4 separate regions of the Homo sapiens genome follow, and regions 1, 3 and 4 are each linked to region 2. The links are contacts of gene promoters, found by promoter capture Hi-C in blood cells and fetal thymus (Javierre and others, 2016). All regions are on one chromosome and are shown on one strand. The core of a region is centred on a gene start or on the middle of the fragment in contact, and the rest is flanking DNA. Distances in the headings are between cores, read along the strand shown. Region 1 has its middle 2.2 kb from the start of C2CD4D-AS1. Region 2 holds the start of MRPL9 (mitochondrial ribosomal protein L9). Region 3 overlaps THEM4 (thioesterase superfamily member 4). Region 4 overlaps SNX27 (sorting nexin 27).

What was found. The method cuts DNA at HindIII sites, captures the fragments that hold promoters and counts their contacts. A CHiCAGO score of 5 or more calls a contact.
Region 1: a contact is called between a fragment that was not itself captured here and the fragment with the promoter of MRPL9 in region 2, in 3 of 17 cell types (M1 macrophages, M2 macrophages and M0 macrophages). The highest score is 7.9, in M1 macrophages.
Region 3: a fragment that was not itself captured here is called in contact with the fragment with the promoter of MRPL9 in region 2 in 1 of 17 cell types (M1 macrophages); the score reaches 5.4 in M1 macrophages.
Region 4: a fragment that was not itself captured here is called in contact with the fragment with the promoter of MRPL9 in region 2 in 1 of 17 cell types (M1 macrophages); the score reaches 5.4 in M1 macrophages.

Annotation. Positions count from the first base shown.
Region 1 is chr1:151,834,461-151,837,630 of GRCh38, reverse strand. No RefSeq gene overlaps it. Among named protein-coding and RNA genes, the nearest start is that of C2CD4D-AS1, 2.2 kb to the left of the region's middle. The HindIII fragment of the contact is 1,518 bases long and covers 762-2,279 here.
Region 2 is chr1:151,762,167-151,765,031 of GRCh38, reverse strand. MRPL9 (mitochondrial ribosomal protein L9) reads left to right here and starts at 1,536. Exons shown (of 7, transcript NM_031420.4): 1 at 1,536-1,705; 2 at 1,886-2,042; 3 at 2,532-2,656. The coding sequence starts at 1,553. It also overlaps a transcript of OAZ3 not described here. RefSeq lists an enhancer at 1,386-1,765. The HindIII fragment of the contact is 8,401 bases long and covers 1-2,865 here.
Region 3 is chr1:151,881,781-151,884,603 of GRCh38, reverse strand. All of the region lies in intron 4 of THEM4 (thioesterase superfamily member 4), which reads left to right. Among named protein-coding and RNA genes, the nearest start is that of THEM4, 26 kb to the left of the region's middle. The HindIII fragment of the contact is 1,738 bases long and covers 477-2,214 here.
Region 4 is chr1:151,637,870-151,640,878 of GRCh38, reverse strand. It overlaps SNX27 (sorting nexin 27), which reads right to left. Exons shown (of 12, transcript NM_001330723.2): 2 at 1,760-1,991. Among named protein-coding and RNA genes, the nearest start is that of SNX27, 27 kb to the right of the region's middle. The HindIII fragment of the contact is 1,372 bases long and covers 922-2,293 here.

The DNA of each region.
Region 1 (3,170 bases), core at 271-2,770, 73 kb before region 2:
TTTTTAAATATGCAGGGTCCTGGGCTCCATCCCTATGAGATGCTCCTTCAGTAGATCTGGGCCAAGTAGGTCCTAAGGTCCCCGGCCAACAAGGCCCCCGAACAATCAGGGAGCCCTGCAATCACTGAGTCACTCTGACAGAAACCAACACAAGCCACCTTCCACTTGAGGCTGCACAGAGGAAATTAACACTCCCTTCCTGTGCCCCTCTAAAACCCACATCTGTCCTGAAGACAGATGAAATTTCTGGCTCTTGAGAGTGAGTCAGGGGATGTCAGATGAACACAGAGTGCCCTTTAGTCTTCCTTCTTCCCTCTTGCCTCTTCCACACCTGTGCGTCCCTTGAGGGGTGGGGCAAGTCTGGAGCCAAGAACCAGAGAGGTGCTTGGGTACCAAATGAATGAGATATAATGTCCCAGGGATTGAAAGGGGGGAGGTGGGGTACTACCAAAGTGTGAGAACTGTTCTCAGGAATGCCAGAAGAGCCTCCTCCAGCCAGAAGGAGGTGGGGGTGGGGGGAGGTGGATAATTGTAGGTCACATTGTGTTTACCTCTACCTGAATGTCCCTGACGTCAGCAGTGACCTTCTTCTCTCTCCCTCCACCTTCCCAGGAGCCGGTTCCTCTGGACTCAGGCCAGGCTTGGAGGAGGGAGGGAGGAAGTGAGGTAGGCACTAGGCTAACCCAACTTCTTTCTCCCTCTCCCTTGGGCCCTTTCTCATTTTTCATGGTGCCAGCTGTGGCCTGCACCAGGGCTAAGCTTGCGGGATCTGACAAAACCTCAAAAGCCTCAGCACCTGGACACGTTAAATTCCAACACACACACACACACACACACACACACACACACACAGAGACACACACACAGAGACACACACACACACACACACACACACACACACACACACACGGCTTCATTCAGACAGCTCTCCAGTTCCTTCTCCCTTCCCTGATTGGGTCCGCACCACCCAGCCCTAGGCCAGAGAACTCTTGCTCCAGGTGTCCACCAGGTGGTGGCATTGACCAAACAATCCTAAGTGCTAACTACTACACATGGATTATAACCACATGAGGAACTGTTCCAACAATTAGTCAAGCCATTTATTCCTCCCAGCACCTTCTATTAGGGTGTAAATACTATTATTATCCAATGGGATCTTGGGCCTCGCATAGCTAGTAAAGGGAAGAACTAGGACTCACATAGCTAGTAAAGGGAAGAATTCAGGGAGTCTGGCTCCAGAGTGTGGACTCTTAATCACTTCAAGATAATACCCCCCACTGCCAGCTGCTGCCTCCCAATCAAGTCACTCTAAAAGGGGCCTCCTTCCCTAAGATGGTAGCTCTGCAAAGGTTTCGTACCCTGCCAGTTTAAAATCCCATGTTTGAATTCTGGGAAGTCTACCTATAGATTTAGGTCTACCCCTAGTACTGGATTTCTATTTCAGCCCCCAAATTCTCCCATAACAACCCTTGGTGAGAAACTGGATTTGATGCCCATTTGAAAGTATCTGGAAAGAAAGTTAGAGGCCGTAGAACCTTCATTCATGCATTCCTTCAACAAATACTTCGGGAAGGTCCATCAGGTGGCAGGCATTGGATACAGCAGTGATTAAACAGACATGGGGATCAGAAAAGTGATAAAATAAGCCATTAAAATGTAAAGAATGCTACTTGGTGATATGTTACAGAGAAAAATAAAGCAAGAAAGGGAATAGAAAAGAGGGGTCAGATAAAGAGAAGGGAAGATTATAGGGACAGAAAGAGGGAGGGAGGAGAGGAAACTTTTTTTTTTTAACCATAGTACTTTGGACCAGGTCCTGAACTTTATCTGTGTTATCTCAGTTGATCATCACAACCACTCAGTAGAGTAGATATTAGTATTCCTCTTTTTTGGGGTGGGGGGACGGAGTCTCACTCTGTTGCCCAGGCTGGAGTGCGGTGGTGCGATCTCGTCTCACTGCAATCTCCACCTCCCAGGTTCAAGTGATTCTCCTGCCTCAGCCTCCCGAGTAGCTGCCACTACAGGCGCGTGCCACCACACCCGCTGGTTTTTTGTATTTTTAGTAGAGACGGGGTTTCACCGTGTTAGCCAGGATGGTCTCGATCTCCTGATTTGGTCTCATGATCTCGGTCTCGGTCTCATGATCCACCCACCTCGGCCTCCCAAAGTGCTGGGATTACAGGCGTAAGCCACCGCGTCACAACCACTCAGGAGAGTAGGTATTATTATTCCCACTTTACAAAGAAAGAAATGGATCAGATAGATAGGTTAAGTAAGCTTGCCTGGGGAACAGCCCTGGCTGGAGGGAAAGGTTCTGACCTGACTCCACCCAGACACCCCCACTGCCACCCCAACTGCTTAGGGGAAGCTGTGAGGAAATCCAAGGCCACTCCTCCCAGGAGCAGTTCACTCAGCATTCACAGCCCTGAGGCTCTGTGATGGGGGCCCTAGCATTGCTGGAGGAACATCCTGGGTAGCTAAAGTACAGAAACATGGGAGTGAGGAGGTCCTAAGAAACCCTCCAGTGTGCAGATTGCTCTGGCCCCAAAGCACTTCTATAAACACTAGTCAGAGGCCAGGTGTGGTGGCTCATGACTGTAATCCTAACACTTTGATAAGTGGATAAATGTGGGAGGCTGAGGCGGGCAGATTACCTGAGCTCAGGAGTTTGAGACCAGCCTGGGCAACATGGTGAAACCCCATCTCTACAAAAAATGCAAAAATTAGTTGCATGTGGTGGCATGCACTTGTAGTCCCAACTACTTGGGGGGCTGAAGCAGGAGGACCTCTTGAACCCAGGAGGTCAAGCCTGCAGTAAGCTGAGATCACGCCACTGCACTCCAGCCTGGGTGACAAAGTGAGACCTTGTCTCAAAAACAAAACAAAACAAAAAAATCCACTAGTTAGGACAGGTATTATTGCCCCATTTTTACTGATGTGGTAGCTGAGGGCTGAGATTTCCCTCAGGGCCTACAGCTAGTAAATGGCAGACCACATTCTTATAAGTGATTCTGCCCCAGCATTTAAACCCTTCTTGCCACCTCCAAGCCTGTGTGACTATAAATGTTAATTGGTAGAGGAGAGGTACAAGCAGGGTCACTGTGGAAAGTTCAAGGCCAGGAGCTAGGGTCAAACTCCCACTGTTCCTCCACCCACAGTGGCCTTTGTGA
Region 2 (2,865 bases), core at 287-2,786:
CATTCTGGCTGCTATAAATAAGCTACATAGAATTATAAACTGTAGAGAATTAAGGGATATCTTTTAGGGGACTATTGCAGTAATCCAGGAGAAAGTAGTGTCTTATTCCAAGGTAGAGCATTGGAGGTGGTGACAAGTGGCTGGATTCTGGAAATACAAGTGCTCCTTGACTTAAAATAGGGTTATGTCCTGATAAACCCATCGTATGTTGAAAGTATCATAAGTTGAAAATGCATATAATACACCTACCAAACACCATAGCTTAGCCTAGCCTATCTTAAACATGCTCAGACAACTTATCCGACAGTTGGGTAAAATCATCTAACACAAAGCCTATTTTATAATAAAGTGTTGAATATTTCATGTAACTTATTGATGTCCTACTGAGTGCACATCACTTTCACACCATCACAAACTCAAAAATTGTAAATCCAAGTCAGGGACTATCTGTAATTTAAAGGTAGAACCCACAGGATTTCCTGATGGAGTATGAGAGAAAAGAGTTAGAATGGAAAGAATGGAGTTTCTGTCAACTGAGAGGAAAAAGGCTGCAGATGGGGCAGTTTTGGGGGCGAGGGGGGAATAAATAAATTAGTTTGGGACAGTTAACTTTGAGGTGTCCTTTGGATACGTAAGAGGAAAATGACGAATAAACAGTTGAATATTTGAGACGAGTTTGGGAGATGTCTAGGATGGAACTAGAAATTTGGGAGTCATTGGCTTATAAATGGTATTGTAAGCCACGAGACTGGATGAGATCAACAGTGAGTGTATACTGAGAAGAGTAAAGGTTCAAAAACGGAGTCCCGAGGGCATTCTAAGAAGCGGGGAGAAAAGGAGAAATCAGCAAACGAGACTGAAGAAGACCGGTGTCCAGGAGGCCAAGTAGTGTATTTAGGAGGAAGGAGGACTGGTCAGTATGTTTAAGGGCCAGTCTTTCCATAATCTCTGCCAAATGGACCTTCTTTCATCCAGTTTTTATGGTCTTCTGTCCAGTACTGAGACCCTCCCCAGAGGGAACTGTCGCGGCCTTACCATAGTTGCTTTTTTTTCTACGGTTTACATAGCTTGTGATTTAGAATTCTCCTTTATTAGCTTAAATACTGCAGTATAATGATTAAGGGTCAGGCTCCTCCTGGAGCTGGCAGAGTTTTCCAAGGGATCCCATCCTTTACCACTTTTAGGTAGATTTGAAGTAAGGAAAAGTGAGAGCATCATTCATTCTCCGGTCAGTATCCAGTCATCACAGAACGTTAGAATTAAAAGTTAGCCCAGCAACTGGAGCTACAGCAAAGCCCACACTTTCAAGAGGAAGAGCGTCTTTTCCGGCGTCAGTCCACCTAACACTCATTCCATTATCAGTCAGTAATTCTAGGCGTCCGTCACCTCTGCCAAAAAGCAAAAATAGGCAAGCCGCGGTGCCATCTGTTCCCCGGCCCGCTCCCCATACTTTCGCTCAGCCGTACCGGCGCGCCGCAGGCAGCACTGGCGGGGGCCTTTCCTGCCGCCGACGCCGGGGTCCTCCCTCAGGTCTCATTCTGTGCCTGTGAACATGGCGGCGCCCGTTGTCACGGCCCCGGGCAGAGCTCTGCTGCGGGCGGGCGCTGGACGGCTGCTTCGGGGAGGCGTCCAGGAGCTACTGCGGCCGCGACATGAAGGGAACGCCCCTGACCTGGCCTGCAACTTCAGCCTTTCTCAAAATCGGGTGAGGGCTGAGTCTGGGGTAGGGGGTAGATACGCTCGAGTATTGTTTCTGGAGGCGCACTGGGACCTGGAGGGGGCCGATGTGGGGGTGGCGGGCTTTCCTTGAGGGGCTGGCGGCCGTGGTGGAGGGAGAGGGTGTTCCTTGTGGAGACTAGCTTACCGTCGCTTTCCTGGCCGCCAGGGCACGGTCATCGTGGAGCGCTGGTGGAAGGTACCGCTGGCCGGGGAGGGCCGGAAGCCGCGCCTGCACCGGCGACATCGCGTCTATAAGCTGGTGGAGGACACGAAGCATCGGCCCAAAGAAAACCTGGAGCTCATCCTGACGCAGTCGGTGGAGAGTAAGGCCCGGGCCGAGGCGCTTCCTCTCAGGCTGGTCCGGTTTGGCATCAGCTTTTTCTAGCCCGTCCCCCTCAACTATTTGCCTTGCTTTTTCTTTGTGGAAACAATCCAACTCTATATGTGAGAAGAGGAAGCCATAAAAACTATTGTGATTGTGACACTGGCCTCCAGCATTGAAAATTAAAACATAAAGGCAGCAACATCATTAACAGTGTGTGGGGAGAGGAGCCTGACAATTTGTGCCACAGATACTGAAATCCTCCATGGGACGACAACTCCCTCTATACAGGGGATATTAAATTTATACATCAAGTTCTAAAGAAACTAATTAGCAGTCTCTTAAATCTTGTTCCTAGTGAATATGAATTAGCATTTCTTTTAGGAAAAATAAGCACTGTGAGAAACTAAGAGGTGCTTCTCTTTTTGACATCTTTTCTTTAGGGACTCCTAGATGGTTCTAATTCCCCTGTCTCTGTTCTAATTGACAGATGTTGGAGTCCGGGGTGACCTGGTCTCAGTGAAGAAATCTTTAGGCCGGAATCGACTCCTTCCTCAGGGACTGGCTGTATATGCATCCCCTGAAAACAAGAAGCTGTTTGAAGAGGAGAAATTGGTGAGCTCAAAGGAAGGACAGAGAGACTTGGGGAGATAAAACTTCTTTTCTCTTGCAGCTTCCTTCCCTTTGACATTTAACTTAACTTGAAAATGAAATAGGAACTAGAAGAACAGGAATGCAGAAGCCCAGCCAATGTCCAACATAGGAATAGTTTGATGCTATTTAACATGGGCTCATTTTTCTTTTACTGCTTTTCATCTTTAACT
Region 3 (2,823 bases), core at 96-2,595, 120 kb before region 2:
GAAAGTGAACAGAAATATAGAACTGAAGAAATTACCCTGATAAGATGGTATGCTGGTAAAGGTCAGAACATTTCCTCTGAATTTGCTAGAAACTCAAAAGCTGTGGAATGTCATTTCTTTCTCTCCATTTTCCTATTATAACTACCCCGCCTTGTGGGCAGTCTATATAGAAAGGTTTCTTTGATACCTGACTGATGTAAGAACAAGAGGGGTAAATGTGAATTCTTATGGATAGATAACACAGGAGTTACTTCTAAATATCACTCCACTGCAAGAATTTAAAAGAAAGCTTTAAAAATACACTCAATAGTTTTCTTGAAAAGGGAAAATGACAATCCCTAGGCTTCTGGGTTTTGTTTGCTTTTTAGAGTTTCGATTGCTTTTCATTCTGTATTTTTTTTAATCAGAAGCTCACATCACTTTAATAATCTTGTGGCACTGTGTTTCTAATTTGTAGCCAACACATTCTGGAAGCTTCTTCCTTCCTTCCTTTATTTATTTATTTATTTATTTATTTATTTATTATTTTGAGACAGAGTCTCACTCTGCCACCCAGGCTGGAGTGCAGTGGCGCAATCTCAGCTCACTGCAACCTCTACCTCCTGGGTTCAAGTGATTCTCCTGCTTTAGCCTCCCAAGTAGCTGGGATTACAGGCATAGGCCACCATACCCGGCTAATTTTTGTATTTTTAGTAGAGACGAGGTTTCACCATGTTGGCCAGGCTGGTCTCAAACTCCTGACCTCAGGTGATCCACCCACCTCAGCCTCCCAAAGTGCTGAGATTACAGGTGTGAGCCATCGTGCCCAGTGCTTGTTCCTTTAAAATGCACAGTTAAGGCCAGGCTACTTGGGAGGCTGAGGCAGGAGAATCGCTTGAACCTGGGAGGTTGCAATGAGCCGAGATCATGCCACTGCACTCCAGCCTGGGCAACAGAGTGAGACTCCATCTCAAAAAAAAAAAAATGCACAATTAAATCCTTTATTTTCACTAACAATTTAGTTAGACATTTTATAATTCTGATATGGTTTGGCTTTGTGTCGCCACCCAAATCTCATCTAGAATTGTAATCCCCATGTGTCAAGGGAGGGACCTGGTGAGAGGTGACTGGATCATGGGGGCAGTTTCCCCCATGCTGTTCTAGTGATAGTGAGTTCTTATGAAATCTGATGGTTTAAAAGTGTTTGGCAGGCTGGGCACCGTGGCTCACGCCTGTAATCCCAGCATTTTGGGAGGCCAAGGTGAGTGGATCACCTGAGATCAGGAGTTCAAGGCCAGCCTGACCAACATGGTGAAACCCCATCTCTACTGAAAATGCAAAAAAAAATTAGCTGGGCATGGTGGTGTATGCCTATAATCCCAGCTACTCAGGAGGCTGAGGCAGGAGAATTGCTTGAACCTGAGAGTTGCAGTGAGCCGAGATTGCGCCAGTGCACTCCAGCCTGGGCAACAGAGCAAGACTCCATCTCGAAAATAAATAAATAAATAAATAAATAAATAAATAAATAAAAGCATTTGACAGATCCCCCCTTGCACTCTCTCTCTCTCTCTCTCCTGCCACCATGTAAGACGTGCCTTGCTTCCCCTTCCCCTTTCCCTTCACCTTTGCCGTGATTGTAAGTCTCTTGAAGCCTCCCCAGCCATGCAGAACTGTGAGTCAATTAAACCTCTTTTCTTTATAAATTACCCAGTCTCAGGTAGTTCTTTATAGTAGCATGAAAATAAACTAATGCAAACTCTCATGATTTTTATAATCTCACAGCCCAGTAAACCTTCAAATCATTTCTCCCTACAAGTTATTTTCCCCTTCCATTGAAATTTAATCAAGAGTTCATTTGTCAGATCCATATGCTCGGTGATGGTGGTGGTGGTTGTATTACTAAAAACACTAAATTAGTCACCAGCTCCATTGTTCTAGTGCGGTGTTGAGATATATCCCATAAATACATCAACATGCCCACCTCAACTAAGTCATTTGGCAGATAAAACAAGCTCAAATGCAAAATGGGAAGTAGAACTTTGAATCAGACTGTTGGGGATTTGAATCCCATGTGTGCCACCAAATAGCCATACAGCTTTAGCAAATTACCTAACCTCTCTGGGCCTCAGTTTCCTCATCCATTAACCAAAGACAATAATACTTTTCTTAAAGAGATATTTTGAGGATCACAGTTAATGTATTCAGAGCTAGCAGCTTAATATGTTAAATGAAGCTTTTTTTTTTTTTTTTTTGAGATGGAGTCTCTCTGTCACCCAGGCTGGAGTCAGTGGTGCAATCTTGGCTCATTCCAACCTCCGCCTCCTGCGTTCAAGCGATTCTCCTGCCTCAGCCTCCTGAGTCGCTGACATTACAGGCACATGCCACCATGCCCGGCTAATTTCTGTATTTTTAGTAAACATGGGTTTTTGCCATGTTGGTCATGCTGGTCTTGAACTCCTGGCCTCATGATCCATCCGCCTCGGCCTCCCAAAGTGCTGGGATTACAGGCGTGAGCCACCATGCCCGGCCTAAATGAAGCTTTTTAATTATTATTTTCAGATCTATGTTTAGCAGAGAGAGAGAGAAAAAAAAAATTACCCTGAATCCAGCACAGAGAAAAAAGGAAATGGGAAATATAGAGAGCATAAGCTATAGTGGACAAATAAAAAGATCTAACATGCTCTAATTAGAGTCCTAGAAAAATAGAATAAAGAGAATTGAAGAGATCCAGTATTTAAGGAAATAATGGGTCAGCATATTCAAGAGCTAAAGAAAATCATGAATTGACAATATAGAAAGCAATCTATATCAAGCTAGGTTTTAAAAGTATATCTAGAGACATTA
Region 4 (3,009 bases), core at 358-2,857, 120 kb after region 2:
CAGTGGTAAGGGGTGAGGACTAACTGTAAAGGGCATGAGGGAACTTTTGAGGGTATGAAAATATTCTAAATCTTCATGGTGGTGGTGGTGGTTATAAGACTATGTACATTTGTCAAAACTTGTAAAAGTGGAGACTTAACATGAGTGAATGTTAATATAGGTAAACTATGTTCAATAAAGTTGATTTGAAAAGTACAATTAGTGGGCTGGGCGCAGTGTCTCATACCTGTAATCCCAGCACTTTGGGAGGCTGAGGCAGGTGGATTACCTGAGGTCAGGAGTTCGAGACTAGCCTGGCCAACATGGTGAAACACCATCTCTACTAAAAATACAAAACTTAGCAGGGCATGGTGGTGCGCACCTGTAATCCCAGCTACTTGGGAGGCTGAGGCAGAATTGTTTGAACCCGGGAGGCAGAGATTGCAGTGAGCCAAGATCACACCACTGTACCCCAGGCTGGGGGACAGAGTGAGACTTCGTCTTAAAAAATATATATAATAAAAATAAAAATAAACAAAGGTACAATTGGTAGTATTATTCCTTTTCTCAGGTTTCCAAGGTTTTAGGTAATTCCCAAAAGGTCTCAACATCCAGACTGCTCTACTTTTAGGATGTGACCTTGATTTCAACTTCTTACATGCCTTATGACTCAAAGTTAGCACTTAGGAAGCATAAAACTCTAAATTCTGTGTGTGGTTCTAAGACTACAGAAGTCCATGCTGAAATAAAACCTATATGCCATTATCTACAGCTAATTACAGATGCAACCAAGCATTATTTGATCCTCTGCAACTCTTTTAGCTTCCTTGCTTTTCTTATCTCTTCACTAAAAAGAATTTACCATAAATGTTTAGTAGCTCGTTCCTATGCAGAGGATAAATCTCAGTTTTAGAGACTGTAACTTTAGTCAACTGTTAAGCTTTAAAACCTGTAGTCTGTTTGCCAGCATCTAACAGAACCCACTGCATTTTCTACTAAGAATAATGAACATTTCTCATTATATCAACACTCCACAAATAATTAAAGGCAAATAAAGCATATTGCAACCAAAAGAAAAATTAAGTAGACTGAGCTATCAGTGGCAATTAGGCTCTGAAGAACAAAGGCATTCAGCAAAGGGGCTAGCACACATCACTAAAAATTCAAGATGGGCTTTCCTGCATAGCTACAACAGCAACAGATTAGAAATGTGTGAAACAGCTCATGGGAATTGCATTCAGGAAACTCGTGGGAAAAACCACAGTTAATCATTCACACGGATATCTCCAAAGAAAATGAAAAAGAACATGATGTGGAAAGAAGAGTAGAGACATCTAAGTTCTGAAATGGGTGAACCTCTCTATTACCCAAATATCTTGAAGGACACCATCCTTTTACATTAATCTTGCCCTATAGCACCACAGAATCAACAGTAAATAAGATACTATTAGCAAAGAGATACGGCAACCAACAAAAGAACAAACAAAAAAGAAACTAAACAAAAACTCACACGTTTACGACAAACCAGAATGCAAACTTGAAACTATCTAAAAATAAAATGGAATTATACTCAAGCTGAGTAGGACTCTTTTCCACTACTGTAATTCACCCCCTGCAATAAATCAGGGTCAGTGTCTTTTATTTATGTGTGAACTCATCCTCCTGGTAGACAAACTGACCTAGGTTGCAGCCTTTTATCTACCACTATAATAGTTTCATAATTATAAGACTAGGGGAAACAAAGCTAGATGTTCGAGGATCGAGTTGGGCTGACACTCACCACAAACTTCTCACCATTCTGCTCCACATGTTTGTATCTGGGGACCGATATGGGCACTGCTTGCTTTTCTGTGTAATCATAAAATGATTGTCCCAACGAGTCGTCACTGGGATCTAGGTTATCTGCCTCATGAGGAGGTACAGATAACACTGTCAAGATCAATTCCTTCTCGCCTGCTCGAATCAGGTCCACCACCTGCTTGTGTGTCGCCCCCTCAACATTCACGTGGTTCCTAAGGGGAAAAAGGGAAAAAGACAATCCCATAAACCAGAAGGGTCCAAACACCTTGTATCTCCACCCTCCTGCCCAAACTCCAGTGTCACACGGTATGAACCATGAAGTCAAAAGATTAATTTGGTTCCAGAAAAGTTGTTTATGTTTTAACAGTTTCTAATGTGAAAAACTTTGTGAACTTATGGCGGGGGGAAAAATGGAAAGAGGTGAGAAGACCTCCCCTTCCTCTATACTAATATCCCACACATAGCTTCAGGAACGCACATGGAAAGAGGCTGAAGCTGAGGAGGAAACAAAGCTTTTTCAGTCAAACAATCCAATTTCCTCATTCTAACTAAGCATGTATACAATTCAATCAAAGTGGCTTTTGACAGCCCTGCCACTTGAATTGTACTTTGTCCTTTTTAAACCTCAAAGGAATTCTGTTAAAAGAACCTTCACAAAATAAATTCTCTTAATTTGTAAATAGAGACTCAAAAAAAGTTATGACTGAAGATAATTCCTTTACATTTACATCCAATTTCTCTCCATATCTCAAATCAGTCAACTTAATTTTCCTTTATGCCAAGTTTCATTACTTTGGGAGCTAAATGGTATTACTCTTCACATACACTAGTTTCCAATTCAATTAACCTCTTGGGATTCCATCAACTTTTTTCCTGCTCTATGCTATCTCATTTAGAGTCCTGTGTAATCAGTCCAAACTAAAAAATATACACCTATAATTATATGGTCAGCCTACTAATTTTCCTTCCTGTTTTGCTGTGTACAAAAGGCTGAAATAAGGCAAACAAAGTACAAGGTTTAGATGAAGTATTTTGTCAAGAAAGATGCTGAGTCTCACAAGACTCCCTCAGCAAACCAAACTACCTTCCAGAATGCTGATCCAGCTGCTCTCTCAGCAAAAACCACTGGGCAGCAGGCCTGGAGGTTCCCTCCCATGGCTATCCCAAGAGAGGTAGGAAATACACACCTGACCTCTAATCAATTTAACATTTAAAGCTTATCTACCCTTT